2 separate regions of the Homo sapiens genome follow, and region 1 is linked to region 2. The links are contacts of gene promoters, found by promoter capture Hi-C in blood cells and fetal thymus (Javierre and others, 2016). All regions are on one chromosome and are shown on one strand. The core of a region is centred on a gene start or on the middle of the fragment in contact, and the rest is flanking DNA. Distances in the headings are between cores, read along the strand shown. Region 1 overlaps SMC1B (structural maintenance of chromosomes 1B). Region 2 holds the start of UPK3A (uroplakin 3A).

What was found. The method cuts DNA at HindIII sites, captures the fragments that hold promoters and counts their contacts. A CHiCAGO score of 5 or more calls a contact.
Region 1: a fragment that was not itself captured here is called in contact with the fragment with the promoter of UPK3A in region 2 in 3 of 17 cell types (total CD8 T cells, total CD4 T cells and naive CD8 T cells); the score reaches 5.4 in total CD8 T cells.

Annotation. Positions count from the first base shown.
Region 1 is chr22:45,391,764-45,397,795 of GRCh38, forward strand. It overlaps SMC1B (structural maintenance of chromosomes 1B), which reads right to left. Exons shown (of 25, transcript NM_148674.5): 7 at 4,583-4,723; 8 at 2,922-3,004; 9 at 1,871-2,078. Among named protein-coding and RNA genes, the nearest start is that of SMC1B, 19 kb to the right of the region's middle. The HindIII fragment of the contact is 186 bases long and covers 1,642-1,827 here.
Region 2 is chr22:45,281,624-45,287,237 of GRCh38, forward strand. It overlaps UPK3A (uroplakin 3A), which reads left to right and starts at 3,326. Exons shown (of 6, transcript NM_006953.4): 1 at 3,326-3,442; 2 at 4,318-4,473; 3 at 5,549-5,614. The coding sequence starts at 3,391. RefSeq lists a silencer at 3,147-3,456. The HindIII fragment of the contact is 17,600 bases long and covers 1-5,614 here.

The DNA of each region.
Region 1 (6,032 bases), core at 485-2,984, 110 kb after region 2:
AATTCTCTCGTCTGAGTTTTTAATTAATATCCCATACCAAGGTTCTTCTACTTTGAGGGAGGAGGACAAATCCCATCTTGAAGAGAGGGCTTCAAAATGGCCTCTCAATTTTAAAGCCCTAGTAAGTGAGAACTTGGGTCTTCACTTCCATTAGAGAGCATATGAGCTTCACATTCCCCAATTCACCAGTGTTTTTTTGTTTTTGTTTTTTTGAAACAGTCTCACTCTGTCACCCAGGCTGGAGCGCAGTGGTGCTCACTGCAACCTCTGCCTCCCGGGTTCAAGCAATTCTCCTGCCTCAGCCTCCCAAGTAGCTGGGATTATAGGCATGCACCACCACGCCCAGCTAAATTTTTTGTATTTTTAGTAGAGACAGTGTTTCACCGTGTTGGCCAGGCTGGTCTCAAACTCCTGACCTCAAGTGATCCATCCACTTCGGCCTCCCAAAGCGCTGGGATTACAGGCACCCAGTTCACCAGTTTTTAAATCTCTCTCCAGTTAGAAGAGGAAAAGGAAACACATACATGTGAGTTTGCTTCTTGCTAGATCAAGGAATACTAGGTGAGAATTCTCAGGAATTAGTCAATTTATCAGTTCAGCTTCTGTGGAGTTGAGAAAAAGCAATGCTATACTTCAATACTTTTTTTTTTTTTTAAATCCTAGATTATCACCATTTTCTAAAGTTTATGGCATCAGGTCGATTTTTTTTTTAACTAGTTGTGTGTGTGTGTGTGTGTTTCACTAGTTTTTGTCACTTGGATAGGAATTGGGGGATCTAGATTTTGTGACCTAGATTTACTCCTCCATCATTATCCAGAAGTCGAAACCAACATTTAGGAGTCAGAAAGTCAAAACAGATGCTATAAAGGAGATGAAGATGGGTGGCCAGAGACATAGGAGGAAAACCATGAAAGTGTGGATATGGAGGCCAATGGTAGATGTTTCCTTTTTTTTGGAGACAGAGTCTCACTCTGTGGCCTAGGCTGGAGTGCAATGGTGTGATCTCAGCTCACTGCAAACTCTGCCTCCCGGGTTCAAGCGATTCTCCTACCTCACCCTCCTGAGGAGCTGGTATTATAGGCGCCTGCCACAATGTGCGGCTACTTTTTGCATTTTTAGTAGAGACAGGGTTTCACCATGTTGGCCAGGCTGGTCTCAAACTCCTGACCTCAGGTGATCCACCAGCCTCAGCCCCCTAGAGTGCTAGGATTATAGACGTGAGACACTGCCCTGGCCGGTAGGTGTTTCAAAACAGAGCAGTGGTTACCAGTCTCAAATGCTGAAAACAGGCCATATCATAAAATAAGGACTGCACAGTATACACTGATGTTAGGGACAAGAGGATCAGATGCCACCCCGATACAAAAGGAAATAATCTTGTGATGCTGGCACCCCAAGCAACAAGTGATACTGTATTTTGGCTAATGAAATACACTAGCAATACCAGATGCACAGTCATACTTACAGAATAAAAATATGCCAATGATGTCTGCTGAAAAAATATTTCAAAAACAAATAAAACCATGAAAAACATGAGGTTTGAGGCTATGTGTCTGGGTGGCTCAGAGTACTTCACAGCATCCAGGTCCTTTTGGGGATACTGGCCACAATTTGAACTTTCTGGGTACTATGTTCATGTCAAGCTTCTCCCCAATAATTACGTTATCTACAGCTACTACTGGAAGTTTTACCCTAATTAGTTACTGTCACATTTTAAATATAAAGAGTCAAACACAAAACTTAAAGATGTCTGAAATAATATTGCTTTGTAATAATGGTAATATTTCTAATCCCAAATGAGAAGATACTGTTGAAAGCAAACAGGAAAGCTTAGTTTTTTTTGTTTAAATTAACTATTCATTCTCATTACCACAGAATCTGGGTACAGTCTTTTAAGGTGTTCCAGAACCTCTGCTCTCTTTTGCTGACGTTTTCCCTCATGGGTATCAATCCCAGCATTCTGCAATTCACTTCTAATAAGATTCAATTCTTCATTAACTTCAGACATTCTTGATTTTGTTTTTTCAATTTCATCCACTAGGGTTTCCTCTTGCTGTTTTTTCTCTTTCAAGCAATCCCTACAAAATAACAACAAATTATACAGCAAAATGATAAACCAAAATTTAGGAATTACCAGGTACAACATACTCCTGTCTGGCATTGCAGGGGAATAGAGCAGTGCTCTATCAATTTTTAAAGGGTAAAAAATGCAATAAACCTGACACCAAACATGGGCAAAAAAGATTTTGCTCATTCTTTGTTGATTTGAAAAATGTGGCTGGGCCAGGTGGCTCACTCCTGTAATCCCAGTACTTTGAGAGGTTGAGTGGGTGGCTGGCTTGAGTCTAGGAATTTGAGACCAGCCTGGCAACATGGCAAAAACCTGTCTCTACAAAATACAAAAAAAAAAAATTAGCCAGGTGTGGTGGCACACACCTGTAGTACCAGCTATTCAGGGGGCTGAGGTAGGTGGATCACTTGAGCCCAGTGGGTGCAGGCTGCAGTAAGCCATGATCACGCAACTGCACTCCAGTCTGGGTGAGAGTGAGACCCTGTCTCAAAAAAAAAGGAAGAAATACATAAATAAGAAAGCTGCAAGGGGTGCGATGGCTCACACCTGTAATCCCAGCACTTTGGGAGTCCGAGGAGGGTGGATTGCTTGGTCCAGGAGTTCAAGATCAGCCTGGGCAACATGGTGAAACCCCATCTTTACCAGAAATAGAAAAAATTAGCTGGGTGTGGTGGCATGTGCCTGTAGTCTCAGCTACAGGCTGAGGTAGGAGCGTCATGTGAGCCCCGGAAGTTGAGGCTACCGTAAGCCATGACTGCGCCACTGCACTCTGGCCTGGGCGATGGGAGTGAGACCCTCTCTCAAAAAATAAAAGAAAATTGCTGCAAGAAATTTTTTTTACTCTACCTACATGCATGTCTTTGTATACTCCTCTAACTTCTCTATTCGTTTTTTATGATCTTCTATTTGTTCTTTTATTTGTTTTAGATTTCCCTAAAAGAGGAAATAAAATCTAAAATCAATTACGGCAATTCCAAACCAACAAAATTACATGCCTAGAACTTACTATAATATTATAAGCTGTTATAAAATTGAAAGATATCAAATATAATTATATGAAAACACTTATCAGAGCAAATTACAGATCAGGGTTCAACTCCTGAATCTTTACCATTTGCTAGATATTTGATCTCTAGCGATTTCTCTCTGTAACTTCAAACTTCAAGGAGATTATTTTCAAATATCTATATAGTTCTTACCCCTTAACTAATGTACTGAACAAATATATTAGGTTGGTACAAAAGTACTGCAATTACTTTTGCAACAATCTAAATATATTCACTGGCTACCATGTGATAGGAACTAGAGGTACAGAAATAAGCAGGAAAGAGTCCCTGCCCTCAAAGAACTAATGTCTGGTAGGAGAGACAGATAATTAAATAAGTAATTATAGTAGAGTGGTTTTGTGTTATAATAATATAGGCACCTGTAGGGCAACTAATAGCCTTGTGGATGAGGATTTCGGGAAAGTTTTGTTCTATTCACTTTATCATTAAATCCAACTGGAGACTACCACAAGTCTTCTCCATCTGTCTGCAACTACATGTGTTCTTCTTGTTTTTTTGTATTCAAAAGACAACAGCAATTCAACCAACACTTATTGACATCTACTAAGTGCAAGGTTTACAATGGACACAATTAGAATCCTGCCTTTAATAAGCTTCCAGTCCAGTAGAGAGGTACCAATTAATTTTAATTTTTATGCGATCTGACAAAAGCCCTTAGATATAGATAAAAAATTGACTGGGCACGGTGGCTCAGGCCTGTAATCCCAGCACTTTGCAAGGCTGAGGAGGATGGATCACCTGAGGTCAGGAGTTCAAGACCAGCCTGACCAACATGGAGAAACCCTGTCTCTACTAAAAATACAAAATTAGCCAAGCATGGTGGCGCATGCCTGTAATCCCAACTACTCAGGAGGCTGAGACAGGAGAATTGCCTGAACCTGGGAGGCGGAGGTTGTAGTGAACCGAGATCGCGTCATTGCACTCTAGTCTGGGCAACAAGACCGAAACTCCGTATCAAATAATAATAGGTAGTTATATGAGGAAGAAATTATTTTTGGCTTTTTTAGGAGCTGGGATATAAAGAAAAGGAGGGCCAGGGAAGGCTTTGCGGTGTTGGTAACTCTAGATTTTAACATGTAAAGATGAATAGGTTATTCCAAAAAGAAACTAGCATGTACAAAGGCAAAAATGTCCAATGTGTATTTTCATAAATCAGTGTATAATTTTATAACATATCAATTACACAATTATACAAATGTTTTAAAAGTAATTCCTGCTATGTTACCACCTTTGTTTTTCTCCTTGCACAAAATGCCTCTTCTACTCACAGAACTATCACAGATTATGGCTATTATATTTGTATCTTCATCTGCCAAATCATGAAATAAATGAAATGAGACAGTATAGTGTAAGGTTAAGGAGATTCATTCTGGAGACAGGTACAAAAAGGAAATAAAATTTCATTAAGAATGATTCTAAATCATTACTGTACAACCCAAGACACCTGAACTTCTCCATGCCTCCTCTTTTCAAATGCCAGTCTTTCTTCATCTGTCTTCTGTTCCCACTGCAGTTTTTCCAGTTGTTGAGTCATTGTAGCTACTTTCTTTCTTACTTGTTCCTTAAGTTCTTTATAACGATCCAGCTGCATAAACAGTATTGAAAAATTGCTAATTCACCTTAAGAAGCATGAGAGCAAATTTCTTTGTATGAAATCCTGTACTAGAAGATAATTAATCTTCCCAAAAGCTTGCTTTATATAAATTAAATCATAATCGACCACCTTCCCCCGGTAAAATAATGTGAGCATGAAAGCTTCCTTTAAAAAAACTGTTTATTATTTATTTATTTATTTATATTTGAAACTTATTTATTTATTTATTTTTATTTTGCCCAGGCTGGAGTACAGTGGCACAATCACGGCTCACTGCAGCTTTGGCCTCCTGGGCTCAAGTGTTTATCTTATTATTCATAAGGTAATCATTTTTTCCTCTCATAAACACTTAAAGATACATGTGGCTTTGAGGAGACATGATCACTTAATTGACAAGAAGGAAACTGATTACTTAAGGTGCTTTAAAATGTTCAGTGATGAATTAATCTCTAACTTATTATACAAGATTTAATTATAATAAATCACTAGATGGCAAAAACATGTAATCGACAAACAACCACATTTTTATCGTTTATCTCTTTTATCAATTTTATGATAATCTTATATCACAAATATACCAAATACCAAAACAATTATGACTATATATACCAAAATAATTATAACTATATAAGTAGAAAAAAATATATCATTTTCTCTGGATTCTCCTTTCTCTTTTAAGATTTTTGGACAGAGACCTTAGTATAGAGGTTTTTGTTGCTCTATTTTAAACAGTCTTTTAGGCCAGGCACAGTGGATCATGCCTGTAATCCCAGCACTTTGGGAAGCCGAGGCAAGAGGATCACTTGAGCCCAGGAGTTTGAGACCAGCCTAGGCAACACAGTGTGACCTCATCTCTACAAAAAATTTAAAAATTAGACAGGTGTGGTAGCATGCGCCTGTAGACGGGAGGATCAATTGAGCCCAGGAGTGACACTGCAGTGAACTATGATTGATAGCAGCAGGAGACAGACAAATCCTAGACAGACAGGGGTGGGTCCCCAGTGAAACCTGACCTTCAAGCCAAAGACAGTTTAAAGCCTAGCTACAAGTGCTGGGTAAATCCACAGACAAGACTGAGAAACTCTCTTGCTGTTTGGTGTGCTTACCTCTGATTGATCCCTACCCTTCACCTATTTTACATACACCTACCCTTCCCTAATTGGTTTTTCACATTGTTGTACCCACTTTAGGGTGGTGCCGTTGTTTTAGCCTTTTTTTGCATACTCACAAACCAATCAGCACACATTCCTCCATTCTGAGTCCATAAAAGCCCCAGACCCAGCTACACTGGGGGAGAAAC
Region 2 (5,614 bases), core at 2,076-4,575:
GAGATTTGGAATGGAAGAAGGAAAATGCTGGTGTTTTGTTATTTGTAATTAGTTATGGAAAAAAATTACTAAAACAAGATTTTTAAGTGAAAAGAAAAGAAAAAGGCTGGCCAGGCACAGGCCTGTAATCCCAGCACTTTGGGAGGCTGAGGCGGGTGGATCACTTGAGGTCAGGAGTTCGAGACCAGCCTGGCCACATGGTGAAACCCCGTCTCTACTAAAAATACAAAAAAATTAGCTGGGCATGGTGGCGTGCGCCTGTAGTTCCAGCTACTCAGGTGGGTGGCTGAGGCAGGAGAATCTCTTGAACCCAGGAGGTGGAAGTTGCAGTGAGCCAAGATCACCCCATTGCACTCCAGCCTGGGCAATAGAGTAAAACTGTCTCAAAAAAAAAAAAAAAAAAAAGAAAGAAAGAAGGAAGGACAAAGAAAGAAGAAAGAGAGGAAGGAAGGAAGGAGAAAGAAAGAAAGAAGGAAGGAAGAAAGGAAGGAAGGAAGGAGAAAGAAAGAAGGAAGGAAGGAGAAAGAAAGAAGGAAGGAAAGAAAGGAAGGAAGGAAGGTAGAAAGAAAGAAAGAAAGAAAGAAAGAAAGAAAGAAAGAAAAAGAAAAAACTAGGTTCATTGAGACAGACCGAGAAGCAGTAATACCCAGTTGCAAGAGGCACCTTGCCACTGTTAGATCTTAAACTCCAGTCTCCAGTGAAAGGCACCAGTGCCCCTTGGAGAGATGGCTGAATCCAGAGCTGGGACAGGGAATGTCAAGAGGAGCCCGGGACATTTTATTGTGCCAGAAAGTAAAGAGGTTCTCAAAGAATGGTGGGAGCGTGAAAGCAGCTAGCACAGAGCTGCTGGAAGGAGCTGCCAACAGCCAGGCCTGGGAACATTTGAGCACAAAATAAATAATGGAAGTCATACATTCAGCTTGCTTTTTTTTTTTTTTTGAGACGGAGTCTCACTGTGTCACCCAGGCTGGATTACAGTGGCACGGCGCGATCTCAGCTCACTGAAACCTCCACCTCCTGGGTCCAAGAGATTCTCCTGCCTCAGCCTCCCAAGTAGCACTGATTAGAACTCACCGTCATGACCATGTCCTGCCCAAAAGGTTTAACTTGAATTTCATCAATAGGAAACCATCAGACAGATCCACATGCAGGGACTTTCTGCAAACCAGCTGGACTGGATGCTTTGCAAATGTTCACATCAGGAAAGACAGAAGCAAAACAAAACAAAAGGCTGAGAACTGTCTGATGGTTTCCTATTGATGAGATTCAAGTTAAACCTTTTGGGCGGGACATGGATGTCCAAGTAGCTGGGACTACAGGCGCCTGCCACCACGCCTGGCTAGTTTTTTGGGTTTTTTTGTATATTTAGTAGAGAAGGGGTTTCACTGTGTTGGCCAGGCTGGTCTCAAACTCCTGACCTCATGATCTGCCCACCTCGGCCTCTCAAAGTGCTGGGATTACAAGCGTGAGCCACCGCATCCAGCTGGGGAAAGATTTTTAGGGATCAAGGGCCGGGCGCGGTGGCTCACGCCTGTAATCCCAGCACTTTGGGAGGCTGAGGTGCGTGGATCACAAGGTCAGGAGATTGAGACCATCCTGGCTAACACAGCGAAACCCCGTCTCTACTAAAACAATACAAAATATCAGCCAGGCATGGTGGCAGGTGCCTGTAGTCCCAGCTACTCGGGAGGCTGAGGCAGAAGAATGGCGTGAACGTGGGAAGTGGAGCTTGCAGTGAGCCGAGATCACGCCACTGCACTCCAGCCTGGGTGACAGAGCAAGACTCCGTCCCCCCCAAAAAAAAAAAGAAAAAAAAGATTTTTAGGGAACAAGACATACATTAATCCAGAGATACCAACTTTACCAAATGATGAAATGGAACATCCCCAATAATGGGACACACTGACCTCATGTGCTTCCTTCCTCCATTCCAAATCTCCCTCATCCTACAGTGAGAATCTGGGTTCTGGTACCACCAATCCTAGGATAACCCAAAGTTGCTTCGGAATGGCTCCGCCCTCCCCACTGCCAATAACAAAGTCACTAGTGAGGTTTGGGGTTCTGTCACAGGCCTCCCAGTTCTTAGAGTGTACTCCACTAAGGAGGTACCCCTGGACAACCCAGCTCTATAATTACTCAGATCGTTTTATTCTTTTTCTGCAAGTGAGGTTATGTCATCAACGTCATACAGAGATTAATTAGTTTCTGTTGATTTTCTTTATCTTTTTTCTAAGAGACAGGGTCTGGCTCTGTTATTGCAGCTTTAATCATAGCTCAAAGTGGCATGATCATAGTTCACTGTAGCCTCGACCTCCTGGGCTCAAGCAATCCTGGGACTACAGGCATGCCCCACTAGGCTGAGCTAATTTTTTTTTTTTTTTTTTTGGTAGAGATGGGGTCTCACTATGATGCCCAGGATGGTCTCTAGCTCCTGGCCTCAAGGGATCCTCCTATCTTGACCTCCCAAAGTGTTGGGATTACAGGCATGAGCCTCCTTGCCCCTCTTCTGTTGTTTTTTTCCTATCCTTGTTGACTTACTTTTATTTCTTAAATGTAAAATTGATTTAAGGTGCATCCAGAGATGTGCACAGATTCTTGTGATGGAGGGAACCGCACAGTCATGGTGAGGAGTCCATCATAATTTTCAAACGCCCCTTTAAGAAGTAGGCATTAACACCCTGCTCCATCCCTTTGGAGGCAGCCCTGGGCTGAGCACTGGACTCCTGGGTTCCACCAGCCTCAGTGTCTCCAGGAGACCAAGCGCGGCCGGGGGTGAGTCCCTGTCCCCGCGCCCCCCACCACGCTCCAATACTTACCCCCTGCCCCACCCCCCAGCCTCCCGGGCCTTGGCTTGTACCTGTGAACCGAAGGGGTCATACTAGGCGTCATACTAGGGTCTCTGGATAGCTCCCAGGCCTGGACTTCGTTTTCCAGGATATCACCTTTACTGGTCAACCCATTTTGTTTCGCGAGTGCCCAGTGAGTGTTTGGCACGTAATAGAGCCTCCATAAATAGTTGTAGAAATTAGCGTCATTTTACAGTATGGAAACTGAGGCTCCAAGTGGGAGTGGCTTGCCCTCAAGGTCCCATTGGTGAGAGACGCTGTGGAAGGGCTGCCCTGGCCTGGGCACACAGTAGGCGCTTTGATGCGGGCTGGAGAAGGTCCTGCCCGGTGGGATTGCGCCCTGGGGCACCGCGCACGGGTCGGGGAAGCCCGGGGCAGGGCCGTATGCAAATAGCGCGCGAGGAGGCCGCGGATTGGCCAGCCCAGGCGGGGGCGGGGCGCGCCGAGGGCCCAGAGCTGGCAGGTGCCCTGGCAGGGACAGGTCTGGTGCCCGCGCCTGCTCGCTGGACCGCCCGCCCCGCGCTCTGGCGGCTCCTCCCGGGCGATGCCTCCGCTCTGGGCCCTGCTGGCCCTCGGCTGCCTGCGGTTCGGCTCGGGTAGGCGGTGAAGGGCAGGAGGGGGCTGAGCCCAGAAAGAGCGGGCAGCTCTGCCCTGGGGCGCCCGCCGCCTGGACCCTGATTCCTGGCGCTGGGGACCCAGATATTACTGTTATGAATAATAGTGATAGCCAACGTTTACGGGCCTCCTCTGTTGGGAATCCGAGGGCTCACAGATGGCTGCAGCCCTGCGATGTGTGTTGCAAGAGACCAACATGCAGGGGGGCTGCGGTAGGACAGAGAAGGGACTAGCCCCAGCCCCATGGTGACGCCTGGACGGGGGCAGATAGAGAGATATTTCGGCCGAGGAAGCAGCATGGGCAAGTTCATGGAGGGGAGACAATATTGGGCTGTCCTGGGAACTGCCAGTCCATGGGACCAGCTGGAGCCTGGGGTGAGGGGAGCCTGTGGGGGAAGGGGTGAGGCTGGAGACCGAACAAAGCAAAGCCCAGAACTTCAGGACCTCACTGCCTTTCCAGAGAGGCTGGACTTCGTCAGGGGGCGCTGGGGGACCATGGGAGGGCCATAGCCAGAGAATGAGGCAGTCAGACTTGCATGTGGGGGGAGGGCCCAGGTGAGGAAGGTGGGACGGAGGAGGGCTGGGCCGATGGCATGGAGAGATGCTTAGGAGGGGCAGTGGAGTTCTTGGCAACTGAGTGTCTGCAGCAGGGAGAGAAGGCAGCAGTTTGGCCCGACCGCTCCATTTCTGAGCAGGATGACTGGGCAGGGGGCAGTGTCTGAGACAGCTTATGCGGTGGCCCAGGGGGAGGGTGAAGCCCAGGGCCTGGCACACAACACGTGCTCAGTAACTGCAAGCAGAGTGGGTGTGGACAGTTCTGCCGGAGGTCAGTTCCCATCCTCACTGCCTCCTCCAGCTGTGAACCTGCAGCCCCAACTGGCCAGTGTGACTTTCGCCACCAACAACCCCACACTTACCACTGTGGCCTTGGAAAAGCCTCTCTGCATGTTTGACAGCAAAGAGGCCCTCACTGGCACCCACGAGGTCTACCTGTATGTCCTGGTCGACTCAGGTAAGGGTCCTGCTTCCCTCTGGCTACTCCAAAAGGGGCTCTGACCTGTCTGCAGGGAGGAGGGAAGGAGGCAGATAGAGGAACCCTCCATGCCTGTAGTCGTCTCATTAAACAGGTACTGCAGCCACAGACCTGTCCTTGCCTTGCAGGGACATCCAGTTAGTGAGGGAAGTAATAACACCACCAGTCACTGAACACCTACACCATACCAGGCACTTTGCACACCATAGAGCTAGTATCTACAACCAGCTTGTAAGGTAGCTATTACCAATCCCCATTACAGAGCAGGGAAGCAAGGCTCAGAGAGGTGGAATAACCCCCCCTGGACCTCCCAGGGCTGGAGAGTGAATCCTGATCTCTCTAGTCCCCAAGCCCAAGGTCCTTCCTGAGGCTTCGAAAGGTGGCTCAAGATTGGTGTTTCTGAGACAAAACCATGCATTTGGACCTGCTGCTGTGGCCCAGCCCCAACCCCTGCCCTGGAGGGGATCCTGAGCTTCTGAGACAAGCCAACATCAACTCTTGCATTTCTAGCAGCCAGTCATTTACAACAGCTCATTCGGGACCATCCTTTTCTTCTTTCAGCATGTGTTTATTGACTATAAACTAAAGTGCCTGATCTCCGGGCACTGTAGGGAATTTCTCTCCCATTTCATAGAAGACTAGGGTCTGAAGAGGTAGAGTGAGTTGTCCAAGGTCACCCATCTAGTAAGGAGGAGAGCTGGGTCCTGCCTCCACGTTATTTCCCTTGGACCGATGACCTTCCTTTCCCATTTTACACAAGAGAGAATCCAGGGCTTTCAGCAATGAAGAGACAAAGGTCTGTTGGGATGGGGGGTTGCAGGAATGTCACAAGATAAGGCGAGAGTCAGACACAGCGCCCAAAGCAGGGAGGTGATCCTTGTCCATCTCCCACATTGCACTGAGAGGGCAGAGACTAAGTTTGCCCCATGCCTGTGATGCCAGTGCCCAGCACAGAGCTGGGGCAGAAAGGATGATCAGGCATTTGATGAATAACTGAGTGAGTGTCGCTGAGCCGGAGTGGCCAGAAGCCTGACTCCCTGCACCGCCTCTGCAGCCATTTCCAGGAATGCCTCAGTGCAAGACAGCACCAACACCCCACTGGGCTCAACGTTCCTACAAA